Regions from separate parts of the Homo sapiens genome. Here region 1 is linked to region 2. Evidence: promoter capture Hi-C in human tissues and cell types (Jung and others, 2019). All regions are on one chromosome and are shown on one strand. Each heading gives the region's core, a stretch centred on a gene start or on the middle of the fragment in contact. The rest is flanking DNA. Distances are from core to core; before and after follow the strand shown. Region 1 overlaps DOCK3 (dedicator of cytokinesis 3). Region 2 holds the start of POC1A (POC1 centriolar protein A).

Region 1 (5,714 bases), core at 812-3,311, 1.4 Mb before region 2:
TTGTGTTATCTTTTTTCTTTTTTGAGACAGGATCTCAGTCTGTCACCCAGGCTGGATCATGGCTCACTGCAGCCTCACTCTCCCAGGCTCAAGCAGTCCTCCCGTCTCAGCCTTCCAAGTAACTGGGACTGCAGGTACACCTCACCACACCTGGCTAATTTTTCATAGAGACAGGGTTTTGCCATATTGCTCAGGCTGATCTTGAACTCCTGGGCTCAAGCAATCCATCTGCCTTGGCTTCACAAAGTGTTGGAATTACAGGCGTGAGCCACTGTGCCCAGTCAGATTGTCGTCTTTTTTTTTTTTTTTTTTTTTTTCTGAGACTGAGTTTTGCTGTCTCACCCAGGCTGGAGTGCAATGGTGTGATCTCGGCTCACTGCAGCTTCCGCCTCCTGGGTTCAAGCGATTTCTCCTGCCTCAGCCTCCTAAGTAGCTGGGATTACAGGCGCGCATCACCATGCCTGGCTAATTTTTGTATTTTTAGTAGAGGCAGGATTTCACCATGTTGGCCCGGCTGGTCTTGAACTCCTGGTCTCAAGTGATCCACCTGCCTGGGCCTCCCAAAGTGCTGCGATTACAGGCGTGAGCCACTGCGCCTGGCTCAGATTGTCTTTTTATTGTTGTGTTGTAAAAGTTCTTTATATAGTCTAGATACAAGTCCCTTGTAAGATATGTGATATATAGATATTTTCTCCATTTTGTAGGTTGTCTTTTTACTTTCTTGGTGGTCTTTGTAGTGCAAAAGTTTTAAATTTTGATGAAATTTAATTTTCTTTTTTATTGCTTATGTTCTTGGTTTCACATCTAAGAAACAGTTGACAAATTCAAGGCCATAAAGATTTACTCCTGTTTAAGAATTCTGTAGTTTAGCTCTTACATTTAGGTTTAAACTTTTTTGAGATAATTTTTGTTTATGATGTGAAGTAAGAATCCAAGTTCATACTTTGCCTGTGGATATCTATTGAAAAGATGATTCTTTCTCCTGTTGAATTGTCTTGGCACCTTTATTGAAAATTAATTGGATGGCTGGGCACGGTGGCTCACGCCTGTAATCCCAGCACTTTGGGAGGCTGAGGCGGGCAGATCACGAGGTCAGGAAATTGAGACCATCCTGGCTAACACGGTGAAACCCCGTCTCTACTAAAAAATACAAAAAAAATTAGCCGGGAGTGGCAGTGTGTGTGTGTAGTCCCAGCTACTCGGGAGGCTGAGGCAGGAGAATGGCATGAACCCGGGAGGTGGAGCTTGCAGTGAGCCGAGATCGCGCCACTGCACTCCAGTCTGGGCGACAGAGCGAGACTCTGTCTCAAAAAAAAAAAAAAAAAAAGAAAAAAAAAAAGAAAATTAATTGGACATAAATTTGAAGGTTATCCCCCCCGCCCCAGAGTCTTAGTTCTTTTCCTTTGACATAATTCTATCCTTATGCCACTACCACACTATCTTCACAATTGTAATTTTATAGTAAGTTTTGAAATTGAGAAGTGTGGATCCTTTATATTTTGTCCTCATTTTCAAGATTGTTTTGGATATTCTGGATCTCTGTATCTCTGTTTTTTTATTGTGCTTATATATTACGACAGTAAAAAAAAGATATATAATTAAATTTATAGTTTTAACCATTTGTAAGTGTACAGTTCTGTCTATGGCCATACCACCCTGAACGCGCCGATCTCGTCTGAAAGTGTACAGTTCTGCAGCATCAAGTACATACATACTGTTGTTAAATAACCATCTCCACCATCTATATCTAGAACTTTTTCATCTTCCTCAGCTTGAACTCTGTACCCATTAAAGACTGACTCTTCATTCCACACTTTCCCAGCCCCCGGCAACCAAAATTCTACTTTTTTCTTTATGAATTTGAGCACTCCGGGAACAATGTATTACAGATACTCCTTCTCTTTTGATGAGGGTACATCCAAAAGCTTATTGTAAGATTGAAAAATCATGAATTGAACCATCATAAGTTGAGGATCATCTATAGTGGAATCATATAAAATTTTCCTTTTGTGACTAGCTTATTTTACTTAGTGTAGTACTTTCAAGGTTTATCCATGTTGTAGCATGTCAAGATTTTGTTACTTTGTAAGGCTGAATAATATTCCATTGTAGGCACGTACCATATTTTATCTGTTCATCTATCAGTGGACACTTGGATTACTTTCACCTTTTCACTATTGTATATAATCGTGCTAGAACACGGGTATACAAATATCTGTCCTTGTCCCCTGCCTTTGGATATATACGCAGAAGTGGAATGGCTGGATCATATAATTCTGTTTAATATCAAATTAAAATTAAATTTGTTAAATGAAATTAGATATTTAATTAACTAAATTAAGTATTTAATTTAAATTCTTTTTAAATTAAAATAATTATATTTGATTATTCTGTTTAATTTTTTTAGGAATTGCTATACTGTTTTCCACAGCGGCTGCACCATTTTACATCCCCACCAGCAATGCAAAAAGGTTCTAATTTCTCCACACCTTTAATATTTGTTCTTTTTTATTTTTTCGTAATAGCCATCCAAATGGGTATGAAGTGGCATCTCATTGTGCTTTGATTTGCATTTCCCTAATGATTAGGGATGTTGAACATCTTTTTATGTGCCTGTTGAGCATCTGTGTATCTTCTTTGCAAAAATGCCTACTCAAGTCTTTTGCCTATTTTAAGAATCAATTTGGGTTGGGTGTTTTGGCCCACACCTGTAATCCCAGCACTTTGGGAAGCCAAGGCAGGAGGACTGCTTGAGCCCAGGAGTTCAATACCAGCCTGGGTGACAAGTAAGACCCCGTCTCTAAAAAAAAAAAAAAAAAAAATGGAAAAAATTAGCTGGGCATGGTGGCACGTGCCTGTAGTTCCAACTACAGGAAGGCTTGGGAGGCTGAGGTGGGAGTATTGCCTGAGCCCAGGAGTTCAAGGCTACAATAAGCTGTAATCATGCCACTGCACTCCAGCCTGGGTGACCGAGTGAGATATTATTAAAAAAAAAAAAAAAAATCTGTTTGTTTGTTGCTGATCTGTAGGAGTTCTTTATCCTGTCAGTTAATTCCTTATCAGATATATGATTTAAAAATATTTTTTCCCATTCTGTGGATTGTTGTTGATGTAGCCTTTGATGCATACAAGTTTTAAATTTTGATGAAGGCGGACTCTTTTTTTTTTTTCCTGTACTTTTGGTCATGAAGAAATCATTTCCAAACCCAGTGTCATGAAGCTTTTCCCTTATGTTTTCTTCTAAGAGTTTTACAGTTATAGCTTTTACTTTTAAGTCTTTGAGCCATTTTTAGTTCATTTTTGTATATGCTGTGAGATAAGGGTCCATCCAACTTTATTCTTTTGCATGTGGTATCCAGTTTTCCACCACCTCTGGTTGAAAAGACAGTCAGTTCTTTGTTGAATGATCCTGGCACTCTTGTCAAAAATCAAGTGATCATTTATGTGAGGGTTTGTTTCTAAGATCACAACTGATTTTTATATGCAGATGGTTCTTGACTTAGGATGGTTTGTCTTATGGTTTTTGGACTTTACTATGGTGCAAAAGTGATGTGAATTGAGTAGAAATCATACCTTGAGTATTAATACTACCGTTCTGTTTTTCACTTTCAGTATAATATTCACTAAATTATATGAGGCATTGAACATCTTATAAAATAGGCTTTGTGTTAGATGATTTTGTGCAGCTGTAGGCTAATTGAAGTGTTTTGAGCATGTTTAAAATAGGCTAGGTTAAATTATGATGTTTGATGGGTTAGATATTTTAAATGAATTTTCAATTAAAGATATTTTTAACTTACGATGGATTTATCAGAATGTAACCACGTTGTTAGTCGAGGAGCATCTGTACAGATTGTGTATCCTGCAATCTTGCTGAACTAGTTTGCTACCTCTAATAGTTTAATGTGGATTCTTTTTTTTTTTTTCTTTTGAGATGGAGTCTTGCTCTGTCTCTCAGGCGGAGTGCAATGGCGTGATCTCGGCTCACTGCAAGCTCCGCCTCCTGGGTTCACGCCATTCTCCTGCCTCAGCCTCCTGAGTAGCTGGGACTACAGGCGCCTGCCACCACGCCTGGCTAATTTTTTGTATTTTTAGTAGAAACGGGGTTTTACCGTGTTAGCCAGGATGGTCTCGATTCCTGACCTCGTGATCTGCCTGCCTTGGCTTCCCAAAGTGCTGGGATTACAGGCGTGAGCCACCGCACCTGGATGGATTCTTTATTAAAAAAAAAATACACATAAGATCCTGTCTTCTTTATTTTTTTATTTTTATATCATTTTTTAAAAATTTAGCTTTTACTTTTATTATTTTTTAAAATAAACAAAGCTGCAATGTTTTCCTCTAAATTCCTTAGCATAATAAATAAAATTCCCTTTTGCAACACACATGGTACGTCATTTTATATTTCCTTAATAGTCTCATGAATATCTTTTCTCATTGAGATTCCACCTGTGTCCAGTAGAAGGAAAACTTAGCTGAAAGGAACATGAAATAGGCTGAAAAACAAAATTTCTAAATTGCTAGTAGCCTTAGAACACCTTAACACAATTTCGGAGATTCAGCTGCTTTGAAAGTGGGCTGCAGTCTGTGTGAGGGCAGTGCTACTTGAGGTTGATTCAGAATGTAGTCTTTAGGGCCCCAAGCTTAAAATGTGGGCCTAGATTCCACCTTTGGTGTCTTTATCCCTGGGAAGCCGTCAAAAGTGCTGGCCAGGTCCTCAGCAGCTAATTTCCCCAAGGGAAAAATTACCCTCTCAGTTGGATTCACTTTTCTGCACTTTAATCTTCTTTTGGATCTTCACCTGATAATTTTTCACCATTTTTCTGAGCTTTTTGGTGTCGTTAGGCTAATGGCTTTGATAAAATGTCCGTTCCCATCCCATTACTGGGTATATACCCACAGGATTATAAATCATGCTGCTATAAAGACACATGCACATGTATGTTTATTGTGGCACTATTCACAATAGCAAAGACTTGGAACCAACCAAATGTCCACAATGATAGACTGGATTAAGAAAATGTGGCACATATACAACACGGAATACTATGCTGCCATAAGAAAGGATGAGTTCATGTCCTTTGTAGGGACATGGATGAAGCTGGAAACCATCATTCTCAGCAAACTATCGCAAGGACAGAAAACCAAACACCGCATGTTCTCACTCATAGGTGGGAATTGAACAATGAGAACACTTGGACACAGGAAGGGGAACATCACACACCGGGGCCTGTTGTGGGGTGGGGGCAGCGGGGAGGGATAGCATTAGGAGATATACCTAATGTAAATGACAAGTTAATGGGTGCGGCATACCAACATGGCACATGTATATATATGTCACAAACCTGCATGTTGTGCATAAGTACCCTAGAACTTAAAGTATAAAAAAAGAAAAAAAAAAGAATAGATAACCTTAAGGTAGGGAGGCTTTTTAAATTGGAAAGAAGCCCCAGCTAGAGGCTCAAAGACAATAAATAAAAAACCACAGAAGTCAGTAAAATTAGGTATATAATGTTAAAACTAACATTATTCACATTATGGTATGTAAATGACATTATATAATACTTAGTTTTGGTCATCAATATGGTGGTCATTGTGCACGTCTGAAATTAAGAGAGATAGGAAATATATAAAGAGTTGAGAAATGGGGATGAATTCTACTTCTGGTAAGGTAGGGCTGTATACTTTTAACCAATATTCCTACTAAAGATCTT
Region 2 (5,623 bases), core at 2,034-4,533:
AGGAAGGGGCTTCCCCAGGGCCAGCACTCTTCCTACAACAGCCGGGGGAGTAGGGTTAAAAATGCTCAAGGCATGATCTTATATAAAGAAAATCCTAAGGAATCCACTTAGGATTAGTTTTTACTAGGAATAGTTTTTACTATTTGAATTAATACATCAACTGTGGAAATGCTTCAACAAAAACAAAAAACAAATGAGTTCAGCAAAGTTGCAAGATACAAAATCAAGACACAAAAATCAATTGTCTTTCTGTACACTAGCAATGAATAATCCAAAAAATAAAACTATTTATGATACATAAAAAAAATAGCAATATTTTAAATTAGCCGGGCATGGTGGCAGGCGCCTATAATCCCAGTTACTCAGGAGGCTGACGCAGGAGAATGGTGTGAACCCAGGAGGCGGAGCTTGCAGTGAGCAGAGATTGTGCCACTGCACTCCAGCCTGGGTGACAGAGCGAGACTCCGTCTCAAAAAAAAAAAAAAAAAAAGGAATAATTTAACAAAAGAAGTGCAGGACTTGTACAGTAAAGACGACAAAACATCACTAAGAGAAATGAAAGAAGACTTAAAAAATGGAAAGACATTCCACATTCATGAACAGGAAGACTTACTATTGTTAAGATACAATACTACGATACTCCTCAGATTGATCTACCGATTCCACATAATTCCTATCAAAATCCCAGGTGTCTTTTTTGCAGAAACTGACAAGCTGCTCCCAAGATTCACATGAAAATGCAAGACACCCAGAAAAAAAAAAAAATCTTTAAAAACAAACAAACAAACGAACAAACAAAAAACACAGATACTATAGAAAGTAATTTGGCAGTTCCTCAAAAAGTTAAACATAGGTCAGGTGAAGTGGCTCACACCTGTAATCCCCACATTTTGGGAGGCTGAGGCAGGAGGATCACTTTAAGCCAGGGGTTCAAGACCAACCTGGGCAACACAGCAAGACCCTGACCCTACAAAAAAATTAAAGAATTAGCCACACGTAGTGGCTCATGCCTGTATTCTCAGCTACTCAGGAGGGTGAGGTGGGAGGACTGCTTGAGCACAGGAGTTCAAGGTTGCAGTGAGCTGTGATCACATCACTGCACTCCAGCCTGGGCAACAGAGCAAGACCCTGACTAAAAAAAAGTAGTTAGCCGGGCACAGTGGCTCACGCCTGTAATCCCAGCACTTTAGGAGGCCAAGGCGGGCAGATTACCTGAGGTCAAGAGTTCAAGATCAGCCTGGCCAACATGGTGAAAACCCCTCTCTACTAAAAATACAAAAATTAGCTAGGCGTGGTGGTGGGCGCCTATAGTCCCAGCTATTTGGGAGGCTAAGGCAGGAGAATCGCTTGAACCCAGGAGGAGGAGGTTGTAGTGAGCCGAGATTGCACCAGTGCACTCCAGCCTGGACGACAGAGTGAGACTCCTAATCAAAAAATAAATAAATAAAATAAATATAAATAAATAAAATAAAAAATAAAGTAGTTAAACGTGGTTAGCAAATGACCCAGCAATTCTAGGTAAATACCCCAAAGAGTTGAAAACATGGTTTACACAAAAACTTGTACACAAATGTTCAGAGCAGCATTTTCCTTAATAGCCAACAAGTGATTGAACCCAAATGATCCATCAACACATGACTGAATAAACCAAATGTAGCATATTCATACAACAGAATATTATTCAGCCATAAAACCGACTGAAGTGCTGATGCTTGCTGCAACATGGATGAACCTTGAAAACATGCTAAGTGAAAGAAGTCAAACACCAAAGGCCACATTTTGTCTGATTCCATTCATATGAAAAGTTCAGAATAGTCAAATCTATAGAGACAGAAAGTATTAATATATTAGTTTGCCAAGGGTTGGGAGAAAATGGGGAAAGAGAAGAAATGGTATGACTGTTATTGAGTATGGAGTTTCTTTTTGGGATGATGAAAATATTCTGGAATTAGTGATTACAGTTGCACAACACTGTGAATGTACTAAAAACTACTGAAATGTACACTTTAAAAGGTGAATTCTGTGGTGTATGAATAACTTAATAAAGTTAAAACACCAGAGAGAATACTCCGGAGACTCTCTCCATCCAATAGCAGCTTGTGTCTTAACACTTGAAGGGTTATAATTCAGCCATCCAAACATCTCCCCCTACTCTAAGTATCAGAAACCTCAAAGAAGCATTTTGGGTGCTCCAGGAAGCCCAAAGGCTCCTCCTGGGAAAGGATGTCCTTGGGGCACAGCAAAGCCACTGCCACCCTACAGAGCAGTAACCAGAACAAAGGCCCTATGGCCTTGTGCCCAGCTCCACCCCTAACGCACCTGTCAGAGTCTCCTTTCAACAACAGAGGGAGGAGCAGCTGGGGGAGGGTCCCCAACAGAGCCTTCTGCTCTCACCTAAGCTTCTTGAAAGAACATGCGTAAGAGAGTGTCCGCCCCTAGGCTCAGTGGGCAGAGGCAAGTTCAGGTCCACCCCTGACCAGTAGGTCCCATGGTATCTCTCAACACCGCCTCCCCTCTGTAGTTCCCTGCATGTGGGCCTCATCTCCCTCAACAGTGGTTTATACATGAGGGGACAGGAAGGGAGGTAGAGTACCAGATTAGGAGTCAAAAGGTCTGTATCCTAGCCTGGAATCTCCGTCCATGTCCTCAAGTGCCTCAGGGCATCACAGGCTACCACCCAGCCTCCCTGACTCTCCAATCAGCCAGAGGGCCTTGCCCGTTCAAAGGAATCTCTCGAAATGAGGACTTCTGGAGGAATGTGAACTCAGAGAGGGCGGCTCCGCCCCGCTCACACTGCAGGCCCGGGCATCCCAGCGTCCTGCTGTACCTACCTGCTGGAGCAGGGTGTACCCTCAACAAGACCCCACGCAGCCACCCACTGCTAAGGACGTGGAGAATGGCTAGAGAGGCCCGATACCGGCCCCAGGTCACACATGAGTCGGGACTTGGTCGTGTGTCCCTCGCTAGGATGCAAACTATGGAGGCAGAGGCCTGTTTGTTCGCTCCAGAAACCCAGCGCAGGGCCTGGCACGCAGGAGGCGCTCAGAAAGTGCCCGACCCAGCGCCCCCTGCGCAGACAGTAAACTGGACCTGAAGAGGACCACCCTGGAACCTGGCGCCCCGCCCGCCCCTCGCAGCCATCGCTCTGGCCATTAGGCGCCCAGTGTCCCAGCGGGGAGACTGAGGCCTGGGGAGTTGCTCTCGGCTGGGCTTACCGCGCAGGGCGCAGCCATGGCGGGGCTGGCGGCGCCGAAGGCAGCTGCGGTGGCCGTTGCGGCCCGTTCAGTTTCCGCGCCCCCAACGGCCACCAATAGCAACGCGGGCCGCGTCGGCACGCCCCGCCCACCGCAATTAAAGGAGAAGCGCCTCAGCTTTTTGCCCGACGACTGGAAGCAGAGCTGTATGACCGGCGGCCGGCGCCACGGTCTCCGTGCCCAGTTCCCCAAGCCCAGACAACCCACAGACAGCGCAGCCAAAAGCCTCTGTCCGCCGCCACTCGTTCCGCCTGAGAAATTAAAAGACCCAGGATGAAGGGTTCACCCCACCAGCCCGTCGTCCGGCTACTCTAACGGCGAGCGCAGCCTCCTGGGAAATGCAGTTCCAAGCCGCCCACGCCCCTATGTCTGGAGGAAGGTGGAGCTACACTTCCCAACATGAGATTGCACCATTGCATTCCAGCCTGGGCAACAAGAGGGCGGGCCGGGTTTTACCACCCGAAGCGACGGCCTTAAGGATCCCGGAAGCGGAGGACACGTGGGTTGCTGTAACCAGATTGCGTTAAAGCACCCGCGCGCGCCGGCGCAGCCAGATTTTCCCCGCAGGAACCTATTGAGAGCTGAGTATTCGCCCCTCGGGAACTCTCAGTGGTTCGCCGTCCGAACGTTCTTAAGACAAGTGTCGATTTAAAATAACATGAGTTACTCGGAATCACAATCATGGAGTGGAGAGATCAAGGTTCGATTCTCAGTTCTCGCCCTGATTGGCTGTGTGATCTCAGGAAAAACGCCTCTGCTCTGTGCCCCGGTTTCCCCATTTGTAACACGAGGGAGTGTGGTGCAGCCCGGCCCTGTCAGGATCCTTAAGGCCTCAGAAGCTGTTAGAAACCCAGTCTTTAAAAGAAGGAGAGGCCGGGCTCAGTGGCTCACGCCTGTAATCTCAGCACTTTGCCACTTTGGGAGGCCGAGGTGGGTGGATCACCTGAGGTCAGGAGTATGAGACCAGCCTGGCCAACATGGTGAAACCCCATGTCTACTAAAAATACAAAAATTAGCCGGGCGTGGTGGCACGCGCCTGTAAACCCAGCTACTCGGGAGGCTGAGGGAGGAGAATTGTTCGAACTCCGGAGGCAGAGATTGCAGTGAGCCTAGATGTTGCCGCTGCACTCCAGCCTGGGCAACAGAGGGAGACTCCGTCTCAAAAAATATATATATATATAAAATAAAATTTGAAGGCCACCAGCAACCATCTGAATAGACTCCCTGCTTGGCCAGGGCACTCAAATTTAACCTGAAAGAGTGGTTCAGGCCATGATGGGAAGTGGGGGTTGGACATGCCTCATTATACCCTCCAGCATTAACATCAACAAAAACCTTAAGTCTGATAAGAAACATTTACGATCTATTTTCTCTGAAACCTGCTACCTGGAGGCTTCATCTGCATGGTAAAACCTTGGTCTCCATAACCCCTTATCTTAACCGAGATATCCCTTTCTACTGATAATAATTATTTCAACCAATTGCCAATCAGAATATGTTTAAATCTACCAATGACCTGGAAGTTTCCCACTTCGAGTTGTCTTGTCCTTCCAGATCAAACCAATGTAAATCTTACATGTATTGATTGATGTATTTTGTCTCCCTAAAATGTATAAAACCATGCTGTGCCCAGGCCACTTGGGCACATGTTGTCAGGACCTCCTGAGGCTGTGTCATGGGTGTGTCCTTAACCTTAGCAAAATAAATTTTCTAAGTTGACTGAGACCTGTCTCAGGTATTTCGGGTTGACAGTTTGGCAACCACGAAAGGATTCTGAGTGGAGGTGCCCCTGACCTTTGACAGATCTCCTATCGGTGCTTGGTACCAGCTTGAGCTATCTTTATGGCTCAAATCTACAGGACAATTTGCTAAGGCCTGGGAGCCCCCCTCCACAAAATTCCTGATCTTCCCAAATTTGGTTAACATCTAAAGTTTATTTTACTGTACAACTCCTTTTTCTGGAGTTTTACTTGTTTCCAACAAGGAAGGCAGGTTTTCCTGCTTCCCTGACGATGGAAGGCAGGTAACTCCTTTCTGGAGTTTGAGCTCGCTTCCAACAGAGAAGGAAAGTTTGAGTTTTCCCTACTTCTGGGATGGTAGAGAGCAGTCTTTAGCCTAAGACCTGTTCTTAGGTAAGTAGCCGAATTGGGGATTTTCTTGGCTGAAGTTAAGGTTAACAACCAGCTGGTCTTAATTTTCCTTACCATTAGAGTGCTCAGTAATCATATAAATTGTACGATCAAGCCCGGCATGGTGGCTCACGCCTGTAATCCCAGCACTTTGGGAAGCCAAGGCGGGTGGATCACGAGGTCAGGACATCGCAGACCATCCTGGCTAACACGGTGAAACCCCGTCTCTACTAAAAATAC

Evidence for each region. Contacts are between HindIII fragments. The study calls those that stand out against the background at their distance.
Region 1: a contact is called between a fragment that was not itself captured here and the fragment with the promoter of POC1A in region 2, in 1 of the 25 tissues and cell types used here (dorsolateral prefrontal cortex).

Annotation. Positions count from the first base shown.
Region 1 is chr3:50,756,870-50,762,583 of GRCh38, forward strand. All of the region lies in intron 1 of DOCK3 (dedicator of cytokinesis 3), which reads left to right. Among named protein-coding and RNA genes, the nearest start is that of MIR4787, 85 kb to the left of the region's middle. The HindIII fragment of the contact is 3,740 bases long and covers 192-3,931 here.
Region 2 is chr3:52,151,140-52,156,762 of GRCh38, forward strand. It overlaps POC1A (POC1 centriolar protein A), which reads right to left and starts at 3,284. Exons shown (of 11, transcript NM_015426.5): 1 at 3,216-3,284. The coding sequence starts at 3,233. RefSeq lists enhancers at 2,677-3,654, 3,655-4,631. The HindIII fragment of the contact is 12,174 bases long and covers 970-5,623 here.